2 separate regions of the Homo sapiens genome follow, and region 1 is linked to region 2. The links are contacts of gene promoters, found by promoter capture Hi-C in blood cells and fetal thymus (Javierre and others, 2016). All regions are on one chromosome and are shown on one strand. Each heading gives the region's core, a stretch centred on a gene start or on the middle of the fragment in contact. The rest is flanking DNA. Distances are from core to core; before and after follow the strand shown. Region 1 has its middle 72 kb from the start of LINC01422. Region 2 holds the start of MN1 (MN1 proto-oncogene, transcriptional regulator).

Region 1 (5,712 bases), core at 786-3,285, 970 kb before region 2:
TGTGCTTTGACCTATCTCACAGAGATCCTGCTATTCTGATTCCTTTGGTTGGGTGACAGTTTCCAGGAGGGACCTGGATTGGCGACGTGCTATGCCCAGTGCTATGCATGGGAGAAAGATCTCTTCAATGAAGGCATTAGTTATGTATTGGCACAGTTAATGCTGCATAACAAACAGTAATGTAAGCTCAAGAGTATATAACAATATATTTTTTTCTTTGGCTCATAGGTCAGCTGGTTGGTTTTACTGATCTGAGCCAGGCTTGCCTAATCCCAGCTGGGCCTGCTCATGCAAGCTGGTGGGTTGGCTAGAGCTGACTGGTCTAGGATGGCCTCACTTGCATGTTCTATGGTTGACTAGCTGTTGGCAGGGGCGATGGAGGTGACTAGACCCCAGGTCTTGTGTCCCCCAGCAGGCTAGCCTGGGCTTTGCATGGGAGCTTGGAGGGTTCTACAAGAGAAAGTGAAAGCTTGTTAAGACCTAGGTGCAGAACTGGCCTGACGTCACTTCTGCCACATTCTATTGCCCAAGGCAAATCATATGGGCAGCTCAGATTCTAGAGGCGATGAAAAGTCTCCATCCTCCAATGGGCAGAGCTTCAAAGTTACATTGCAATGGGCATGGGGATAGGGAAGGGCAGATCCTTGGGGCTTATTTTTTTCAATCTGTCTACTGAAATGGATAAACAGAAGTAGTTAGTTTCACTGACAAGTATTACTAGCACCTCTGTGTTGAGTCTTATGCTAGGTGCTGGCAGAGGTGGTGAATATGAGACAGTCCCATTCTGAGGGTAAGACACAGACATAGAAATGGATGATTGTGATCCACTGTCAGTGCTGTAATTGGGGAAGCTCAGGCAGCGGTGGGAGACCAGAGGAGGCTCACACACTCCCTGGAGGTCAGGGAAGGCTTCCTGGAGGAGGTCGCTCCTGATCTGAGTCTTGACATTTGAGTGGGAGCTCACAGGGTGAGGGAGGTGGCAAGAGGGGTGACGGGAGGAGGAGAAATCAGTCCAAGAAGAGGAAGCAGTGAGTGCACAAAGGCATGCACGTGAGAGGGACCTGTTAGAGAGAGAGGCCAGGGCATAGAGCAAGGGACAAGGCCTGGCCTAGCTTAGGTCACAATGTCCCTTGGAATTAGGAGACTGTTGGCTTGAGATATCCACCACACCCAGAGCAGGGTTTTGAGGGGTGTTCTGATAAAGGGGTGAGGGAAATGTTGAGCAGAGCCTTATTAATAACAACGAAACCCCTCCAGTCGCCCACCTCCCCCAAACACGAAACATCAGCTGCCAGCCAAGTCTGCTGCGAGCTGGGGTCTCAAGGCAGATATAATCCCTGCTCCCAAAAACCTTACCAGGTCTCAGAGACATGCGTCAGCTCCTCAGCTTTCCAGGGTCTGCAGGAAAAGTGAGGAGCAGCTCTTGATGGCCACTAACCCGTAGCCCCACCACAACCCACCCTGCAGATCCCATCACTCTGCAGATCCCATCATCCTGCTTCCTTTCCTTCCCTGGGATTAGATACACCTGAAATTGTTGTTCTCTCTGTTCACTTTGTCCCCAGCCGACTCCCCCAGGCACCTCCTGAGATGTTGGGCTCCATCAAAGTGGCCACCATGTCTTTTTGTCCTTCATCTCGGTTTCTTTAGTACCCGAGTCAGCACCTGGGCATGATGGGTGCCGAAACTGTCTTGGCAGAGTAAAGGACAGGCCAGCTCCCTGCAAGATGCTGAGCAAGCCATGTGCTCTTTCTGAGCCTCAGTTTGCACATCTGTAATTCGGGGATGTTGTACAGCAGCCAATTCTGCCACTATTTTCTGAGATCCTGCTTGCAGCTGGACCCTGGCTTAATATACTGGAGAGAATTTCCAGGAGAGATTCTGACCCACGGATTTTCTTGCCTGTGGACAATTGTCAGAATTCTCCACCTTCTAGGGTGCGAGGATGGATTATGGAGAAATGGACATAAAGCAGGTGGCAGGAAACTTACAAAGGGGAGGCATTTCTGTCTGACTTCACATTTCCCATCAGCGGGGCCTTTTTTTTTTTTTTTTTTTTTTTTTTTTTGACAGAGTCTCGCTCTGTCACCCAGGCTGGAGTGCAGTGGTGCAATCTCGGCTCACTGTAACCTCCACCTCCTGAGTTCAAGCGATTCTCCTGCTTCAGCCTCCCAAGAAGCTGGGACTACAGGCGTGTGACACCATGCTTGGCTAATTTCAAAACTTTCTGCATCCTGAGGGGCATGCCCAAGTTTACCTGTGCTCACAGAGGAAGGAGGTGTACAAACCCACATGGGAGTTATTTTCCAGTGTGATTGACACTCCACACCCATCTAAGTGCGGCTGGCATGGAAGTGGTGGCCCCGCAGGCAGGACCCATCCTTATCTTTGCCTGGGAGCTTTTTAAAAGGTTACCAGACACCCACTTCCACTTCCCCCCCTTAAGCTCTGTTTCTGAGTCTCTTTTATTTGAATCCAGGGAAACTAGCTGAATGTAAAGCCATCAAAACCAAAGTGACCCGAGATGTCCGATTGGCCCATATTGGCCAGAAAATGAGTATTTCCCAGCTTCCAGGAGGGTCTGTTTGCCCCAACATCCTGAAACCTCAACCCCCTCCTTCCCCAGGAAAAGGAAGGAGCAGCTGGCTCAAATTGCTCCCCCAAATTCCTGGCCTGGCAGTGGTTAAAATGTGATCCCTTTTATTCGAGTAATAGAGAGGAAGTTCCCGGGCCTTCAAGAAGCATCAATCCAGAGATTTATTAACCAATTTAAAATACTATTGTCTTTCACTTCAGAGCAAGATTGAGGGGTGTTGTTGCAGGAATGTAAAGTCAGAGTGACTGAGCCTCAGAGCCAGGAGGGGTCTGTACCTGGGACTCAATAGATATTCATGAACATTCCCGTATTTAGTGAAGGAAATAACTTAATACCGACAGTGCGATGGAATAATAGCTATTTCCTGGCTGACTTGCAGGCCTCAGAAAATGAGATTGCAGTGGCTTCATTTTTCTTGTCTTTTCCTGTGCTCCCTGCCAGAGAAGGAGCTGCCACTGGGATTCTCTCTGCATTTGCAATGAGCTGGGGCCTGCAGCCCCCACCCAGGCCTGGTGACTCCCTTATCACCCCTTCTATTTGCTGTGACCTTGGCCTCGGCTTCATGGAGAGGTCACCCTGCACCCTGTTTAGCTGTACAGATGACCAGGAAAGTAGATCAACCTTTATTCAGATGGAGGGGCAGGCAGACTGGTTTATTTGAGGATGATTTTGACATTCATCCACTCATTCATTCACTCAGTATTCACTGAGGGTCTACCTATCACACTCTGAATGCTGAGGACACAAACATGAATACTGTCCAGTCCTTCTCTCTTGCAACTTGGTCCACTGAAAGAGCCACACACTAAAGCATTTCAGGGACCCCTAGAGGTGTCCACACAAGGCTTAGAAAGCCTCAGAAAAAAACGAGATCGTGATACTTAGAAAGACAGAAGATCAGGAATGACATCAGCAGGGACATGCCTCTTAAAAGTTGCCAAGGTCTGATTCATCAAAAGACCACCTGCCAAGCACTTTACCCGCTTTGTTTCATTTGGATCTCATAGAAGCTTCATGATGTGCACTTTGTCGTTCTCCCCATTTTATAGGTGATGAGATGAGGCTCATCCAGATGCATTGGCTTCCCCAAGGTTAACCGGCCAGAAAGCGGCAGGGTCAGGATTTGAGCCCGTGTTTGTTGGATTCTGATTCCGGGCTCTGGAGGGCCTCAGTGTCCTGCTGGTCTTTGCCCAGGTGGTAGGTGTAGGGAGGGTATTTCAGGCAGTGGGCACAGCCTGGGTAAAGGCACAGAGATGTGGAATGGTCGACCTGATGCTTTGGGGGACTCTAAGTGGTCACTTATGGGTTGATGGCAAGATGGGAGTGGGTGCTGGGGCACAGCTGAGTGGAAACCAGGGTAGAGAGAGGTGTAGAGGGGCGTCCTGAGGAGTTTGGACCTGAACTGGTAGACAAAAGGGGGAACTAATGAATGATTTTAGCTTGGAGACAGGGGAGGCTCTATGCACGATATAATCTGGCCCTCCAGACTGATCTCCATCCTTCACCATCCAGCCCTGAGCCCAGGAAACTGATATGCGTGGACCAGGTCAACAGATTCTCTCTGGCTCTGGCTGGGTTCCGCCAATGAGGATCCCCAGCAGGAGATCAAAGGAGAGGGAGAGGAAGGGCAGGGGTTCATCCTCTGGTTTCCTGGGCTGGCTGTGGCCTTTGACTGAAGGTCATCAAAGTGATCTAACCCCACTCTCCCTCCTTCTAGGTTATGGTAGCCTCCCTCTCCCCTCATTCAGGCCTAAGCCGGGGAAGTAGCTCAGCTGCTTCCAGCCAAGGTTATCTCCATTCCACCCACACCTTTGGAATGAGTCCCTTTGTAAATAAACTCTCCTCCATTGACCTTAACTTGAGAGTGCCACCCATTTCCCTCCGACCCACATAGCTCCTTTGGGCCATCTTACGTGCAAGTCAGAAATCTCAAGATCAAGGTGTCCAAAGGACCAACCACATTCCTTCTGGCGGCTCCAGGAAAAGAACCTTGCCTTTTCCAGCTTCTAGAAACACTCCTTGGTTCATGACCCCTTCCTTCAGCTTTAAAGCCAACAGGGTAGCATATCCCAGTCACTCCCCTGCTCTCTTTGACCACATCTTTTCTCTTTTACTTGCACCCCTGTCCATCCTGCCCCCGACTCCCTTTATAAGAATCTTCATGATCAAATTGGTCTTTCCTGGCTAACCCAGGATAATATCCTGTCTCAAAATCCCTAATGTAATCACATCTGCAAAGCCCCTTTTGCCATGTAAGATAACATATTCACAGGTTTTGGAGATTTGGATGTGGATGTATTGGGGGCCTTTATTGAACCTACTACAGCCGGGGAAGTTTGGATTCAGAAATCAAGCCAGGACAATATCACAAGTATATCTGCACTCTCACTGAGGCATGGGAATTAGCATATATGGGCATGAGGGCATGCCCCGGTTCTGGTTCCAGATTTCCTGAGTGACCTTGTGCAAGTCACTAAGCCTCTCCATGCTGCAGAATTCTCATCTATCAAATGAGTGACTTGTCCTGCATATGCTCTGAATCTGAGCTCAATTGTTCAAGAAGGTTTCAATGAGTATATATGTTCTCAAGGGGTCAGTATTCACAACCACATATTTGGGTAGGAAAAGATAAAACCCACCTATCCACACCTCAAGCCACACCTCTGGCTTGGGAAGAAAGAGATGTGTCTGTTGTGTTAGGGACTGGGGGACCACCAGAGCAAGTTTTTTTTGTTTTGTTTTGTTTCTTTCTGTTGGCCATGGGGCCAGGGTTTGCTCTGTTACCCAGGCTGGAGGGTAGTGGTGTGATCATAGCTCACTGCAGTCTCTAACTCCAGGGCAGGCTCAAAGTATCCTCCTGCCTCGGTCTCCTAAATTGCTGGGACTACAGGCCTGCATCACCATGCTTGGCTAATTTTTAAATTTCTTGTAGAGACAGGGTCTCACTATGTTGCCCAGGCTGCTCGCAAACTCTTATCCTCAAGTAACCCTCCTACCTCGACCTCCCAAAGTGCTGGGATTACAGGTGCAAGCCACCAGAGCACCTGCCAGAAACTTACATTTTAGAATGAGTCCTCTGGGTGCTGGCGGAAAGTTTATTCTAAGGGGGCAAAAAT
Region 2 (5,792 bases), core at 1,539-4,038:
GCTGCTGTTGCAGGGACTGGTGGTCCGGGGCCGGATGCTGCAGGGGCGGCCCCGAAGGGAAGCTGTCGGGCACAGGCGGTGTGAACTCGCCGGGTAGGCCTGGGTAGGCGGAAGGGGAGAGGTGATTATCCAGAGCGCCGTTGTGCATGCTGCCGTTCCACGAAGCGCAGCGGTCCACTCCCGCGCTGCCCGGAAAGTCGAAGCGCGGCCTCTTGGCCACGTTCATGTAGGGGGGCGCGTCGAAATGCTGCAGCCGCTGGTTGGGCGCCTGCTGCGGAGGAGGATGCTGCATGCTGAAAACAGGCTCGGAATAAGGGTGCATGCTCCGGTTCTCCAGCCGGTGGATGGGATACTCGAATTGCGCGTGCTGGCTGGGCAGCATGGGGCCTCCGTCCTGCAGGCCGCCGCTGGGCGTGCCCGCCTCGCCCTGCTGGGGCCGAGGGAGCGCAGGCGGGCACGAATTTTGTCGGACTAGAAGCCCGGGTGGCGGCGGCGGCTGCTGCTGTGGCGGCTGCTGCGGGGGCTGCTGCTGAGGGGGTGGCGGGGCCTGCTGGGGAGGCTGCATTAACGGGTGCCTGGAGCCCACTGAGGGCTCCAGACCCACAGGCATCTTTCTGGCCCCACTGAACCTCTCAAAGAACACACCATGCTGCTGCTGCTGCTGCTGGGGCTGCTGCTGCTGCTGGGGCTGCTGCTGCGGTGGCTGGGCGTGCATTTTGGACAAGCCCACCATGCCCGCAGCTCTGGGCATGGCCGAGGCGCCCGGGAAAGCGCCCCCAGGAACCTGGCGACCCGCTGCATAATGAGGCAGCTGCCCTTCGGAGTCAGAGGGCGAAAACATGTCAAAATGTCCCGAGGGCGCCTCGCCCGGGTAATTGTATTCCAGCGAGTCGACGGCTCCTTGGTTCGTCACCCTCCGTGGCTCCAGACTGTGGGAATCGGAGCCGCTGGAGGACGGCAGGCCGTGGAAGGAGGCGGCTCGGTTAGGGCTCTGGTCCAGCGGCAGGCATGGGGCCGGCACGGCGTGGCTGGAGGCACCTGAACTGTGGAAGTCCGGGAGGTTCCCCGGTCGCTGCGGGCCGAAGCTCTCAGGCCCCTGGCTCTCCGCCATGTGCTCATAGCCCTCGGCGAAGGGCGGCTGGCTGCCCAGGCCTCCGGCTGCGCCGCCGTAGCCGAGCAGGCGACCCCCGTGCAGGCACGAGGCCCCGGGGTCCGGGCCACCGAAGTTGCCCCCAAAGTGGGGGTGATGCTGGTGGGGATGATGACTTCCCGGGTGGCCGTGGTGAGGCTGCTGGCCGCCAAAGAAGCCGTGCACAGGCTGCGCTTGCAGCCCCCCTGCGTGCAACTCCGAGTGGCCGCGCGCGTGGAAGCCGTAGGGCTCCATGTTCATGCCCAAGATCGGGGGTTCGCCCAGCGCGCTCATAGCAGGATCCACAGGGCCAGGGGGCCCCCCAGTGTGGAAAGCCGGGGCCTTAAAGTGGGTGTTCATGCTCAGTCCGGTCTCGTTAAAGTTCCTCTCGCCCTGGCCAGCGTTCCTGCTGTTGACCTGGGGCTCGAATTGGTCCAGCCCAAACATACTTGGCGGGGGGCAGAGGGGGATCAATAGGGCATGACAGCCGGCTCTCCGCGGCGCGCCTCCGGCCAGCTACTCGTTCCAGCCCAGGATTGGGCGCTCCGGGACGCTCAGCACCGCGGGGGCTCAGCGCGCACCTCCACCCCGCCTGATGTGAGGGACGGGGGGCGGGGTATTAGCTCCTCTCCTGAAGCTCCGATTCTGCCCGGGGAGGGCCTCTCACATCTTGCGAGGCCGCGGGGCCTCTAGGAGCCGTGTTGGGGGGCCCATGCCCCGGGCGGTTGTCACAGCCGCGGGTGGGTCTGCGGGGAGGGGACGAAGCCGCGGATGAACGGAGACAAAAAGTTAAGTGGGGGGAATGGGGAGGGAAGGGGGTTGGGAGAGCAGAGCGATCACCTTCTCAAGTCCGATTGGGTCTGCTGGGGAGCCCTCAGGACGCCGCCCGCAGCCTCCCGGAGTCCGTGGCAGAGCTGCTAAGGGCAGGGGAGGGAGACCCTTCAAAGCCGCGGCTGGCGCCGGGCACCGACAGAGCGGTCCCTCCCCCCGCCCCCCGGAGTCCCCGCGCCCCGCAGCCCGAGCCTCCACCGAGCACGATCCGCTCGCACAATCCCCGTAGGCTCCGGGCGAGCGGCTGCTGCTTCTTCAGCGGGTCGGAGGACTGGAGGCTCCGCTCGGCATCGCCGGTGCCGGCCCCCGAGCCGAGGACGCAGAGGGGCTGCGAGGCGGCAGGCGCCGGGGGCTGGAGCCGAGGGTCGGGGAAAGGCGCGGCTCCTCTGCTCGGCAGCGGGTGCGCTGCGTTCGGCGCGCAGCTTCGCGGCCACGTCCGCCGCCTGCCGCTTCTGTTCTCCGCCGTTGGGTGTCTGAGTTCGCCGGAGTCTCCGCGCACCGTTGCAGGCGCGGGAGGGCAGCGAGACGAGGGGTTGGGTCGCTCCAAGGCTCCGGTTCCCTGCCTCCGCGCTGAGGTGCTTCGCGAGTCCCTCTCGGACCTGAGGGAGGGGGGCGTACGCGGGTCGGGGGGCCACGCCGGGCGAGCAGGCTAAGGCGTTCCCGCTGCGCTCTCAGAGCCCGGAATGGGGGGAGGGGGGCGCGGGGGCAGCTCTGGGGGGTCTGCGCACCCCTCTCCCGACTAGCGGGGGGGCTCTGCGTGGGGCGTTCCGAGGGTCTCGGCTCCCCTCTCTGTGTCTGCCTCTCGCCCAGCGCCGGGAGAAGCAGCAACAAGTTTTGCATTTCAGCAATCAATTTCAGCCATTACATTTGCACCAATCAGCGCCGCCCAAGTTCCGGGCTCGGGGCGGGGCTCGCTCTTAAGGTGGTCCGGGGTCCTGGCTGCCGAAGCCCCCGCCACGAACCCGCACTACCCCAGCTCTGGGGTCCCCTGCGCCCGCCTCTCCTCGGGGTCCGGCGTCAGTGCGCTGGGGGCGCGCCCCGGCCTCCGGGCGCATCGAGCTGGAGAGGGTGCAGGCGGAGGAGAATGGCGGGAGCTTGGCTTTGTTCACCCCCTTCCCATTCACACTGTTCCCAACTCCCCACCCCCAACTGGAGCGAGACCCACCGGGTGGGCAGGGGGCGGGGAGGTGGGCGGTGAGCGGTACGGGGCGCTCAGACAATGAGGTCGCCAGGCAAAGACCCTAGACTCGCCACGGAAAGTCGCTAAGTGTCTACTGCACTTCGGCTCCGGGGTGAACACTCCGTTCTCCGCTAGCGGCGCCCAAGTTAGCCGGCCCTGGGATTTTCTTGGAGGGTAAAGCAGACGGGGAACCTCGAAGTTAGGGTTCTCCTCGAGAGACCTGGGCGCTTGCTCACTCCTCCGTCACTAGGGCGTTCACAATTGTTCCCCTTCCCCACTGCCTGGGGTTCCCGGTTCTCACCGGCCGGCGTGGGCTCCAAGGAGTCACAGTCACTCAGCCACTTTATGGGGGAGCACATCGGTTGAGCCCAGTAACCGGAGCGACTTGCGAGGCGGCTGGGAACCCCGAGAAGACACGCACGAAGAGGGCGCACCCGCCGGGCCGCACACCTTGCCCTGGGCCACCCGGTCCAAGACCCAGACCCTCTGCGGGTGCGAAGTTGGCCTCCTTAAGAGATCAATTAAACTGAAGAGGCCGAGGAATGGAATTGGGCTGTGATACTAAAATCAATAGGAGTAATTTAATATCTGCCCTGCTCTTTATGAAATATTTATCCCAATAATCTTAGTTAAAATGTTTAGATCGTCCTGATCCCCACAGAGGCTGAAATCTATCTTGCAATTAGAAGTTGGAAGTTAGAGGTGATGGAGGATAGAGGTGTTTATTCTGTGCGCCTGTGTGCGTGTGCTCGCGCCTGCGTGCGTGTGTTTGTGCATGCGTGTGTGTGTGTGTGTGTGTTCCTCCCTAAAGTGTGTGTAGGGAAGGAGGGGGGAGAAGGCCTTTAATTTTCCTTGCCATAAAATAGCACGAGGCGATTTTGCTAGCAGATTCGCATTCTTAGGAGAAGGGCGAAAAAAGAACTTTCTTTGAAGTGCCCCTGATATCGCTATTAAATCTAAATAAAATTAAGCGTGGTGTATGAAAATGCCTTTCCCCCCCCACAAAAGAAAGTGTTTATCGCCCGAGTCTGTCTAGCGTTTGCTAAATTACGCATGAAATCTGAAATGAAATAAACGTTATAATAAAACCAACCCCTGAGCCCTTTTTATTTAAAAACCTTAGATTAAGCACTCCACCGTCGCGGGCAGGAGTTAAAAAGTTACCATGTCGTACGCGCAGATTCATTGCTCCCCTGAGTTGCGGCTAGGAAGGCAGTGCTAAGTATGCCAGAACCGACATGCCGGGGGTGGGGGGAAATGGGCTCAACTTTGGGGTAGCGGCAGAATTCCTAAGAAATTGCCCCCCGCCCAAAAAAAATTTTAATTAAAAATAAACAAACAAGAAAAAACAACAACTTTAAAACTCAGCCAGAGCAAGCTCAGATCCAAGACCTTTCCCGGGGCCTTCCTGTTGTGGAAGTTTACAGACATATATATTTTTTCTTTTTTGAAATTAAAAATGAAAATTACCCCCATCAAAAATGGGGTCCATAAATAAGCATAGGGAATAAGTATTTGTACAGGGCGGTGGAGTTTTTAAAGGATTTTTCTGCAGGATCAGGTTGTTGGTCTGTGATTAAATATTGATTTTGTGTAATTAGTTTTCATGTGAACTATCCTCTTGCTGATAGCTTAGAGGTTTCAGAACTAGAAAAGAAATGGAATTGGACATGGAAATTATTACTTAGCAAAGTGACAGGGAAGTGAGAGCCAGAGAAAAGACTGAGGCTTTGCTGATTTAGGCACAAAGAAATAAAGGCTTGGGTAGGCCCTCCAGTGACACCCCCCCCCCGCCCGCCCCGGGGCCTAGGACCCTGGGGCTCTGGGGCTCCCGAGACAGAGCAGGGGGGATCTTGAACCTCCTGGACAAAAAGCGGGAGGCAATAGGAAAACCTGGTTGTGAGGAAGAGGCCCCCACATGGGCAAAGGCCTGGGCATAGTCCAAGATACTGGGTCACACACTCAGTCTGCTCTCGACTATGGGTGTCTCCTGAGGCACCTATGAGCCGCCTGTGTTTCTGTGTCTGGAGGAAATAGGGAAAAGTGGGGACCTGTCTGGAGCCTGGGGGTGGGCCAGGAGAGTGGGAAGAATGGCTCACAGGCCTGTCGTCTGGGGAGACCCGGATGGGGGCGTCTGCAGAGCTGAGGCATGACTTCACACAGGGCTGGGTGGGGGTCTCCAGCACACCTGGGCAGGTTTCCTGTGGAATAATTCCGTGTGCTCCAGGGAGGGGGGGTGTGGGAGTATTTTTCTGGGGCTGTTTCCAAGAGTTAGCTCCACAAGGTGTGTGAGTGGCTGAAAGAAGGGAGTGTTTGGACCTGGTGAAGTTTCTGTTCAGGATGTGTGTCTCGGTCACCTTTCTTTAACACTGCAAATGTTGTGCGGGTGTGTGGCACACGTCTGCATTTTGTGCCTTTGCTTGTATGCGGGTGGCGGGGCATCTGCGTGTGTTTCTGTCCATGCCTGCGTCGGCGTTCGTGCATGGATCTTTGGGGGTCTTGGTGCATGTTCTCTGTCTGTCCCCCAACCCCGCATTTCTGTGTGTGTGAGCCACTGCGTTTGTACCTGTGTGTGTGCAGCTGCCTCACCCCTTGCATGCCTGTATCTCTGCTCCAGTGTATCTGTTTTTTCTGCGAGTGTGAGGGCGTGTG

The links. Contacts are between HindIII fragments. The CHiCAGO score rates a contact against its expected background, and 5 or more counts as called.
Region 1: a contact is called between a fragment that was not itself captured here and the fragment with the promoter of MN1 in region 2, in 1 of 17 cell types (M1 macrophages). The highest score is 5.7, in M1 macrophages.

The regions. Positions count from the first base shown.
Region 1 is chr22:26,828,028-26,833,739 of GRCh38, forward strand. No RefSeq gene overlaps it. Among named protein-coding and RNA genes, the nearest start is that of LINC01422, 72 kb to the right of the region's middle. The HindIII fragment of the contact is 3,137 bases long and covers 468-3,604 here.
Region 2 is chr22:27,798,968-27,804,759 of GRCh38, forward strand. It overlaps MN1 (MN1 proto-oncogene, transcriptional regulator), which reads right to left and starts at 2,789. Exons shown (of 2, transcript NM_002430.3): 1 at 1-2,789. The coding sequence starts at 1,576. RefSeq lists enhancers at 1-309, 310-855, 5,198-5,762, 5,763-5,792. The HindIII fragment of the contact is 19,591 bases long and covers 1-5,792 here.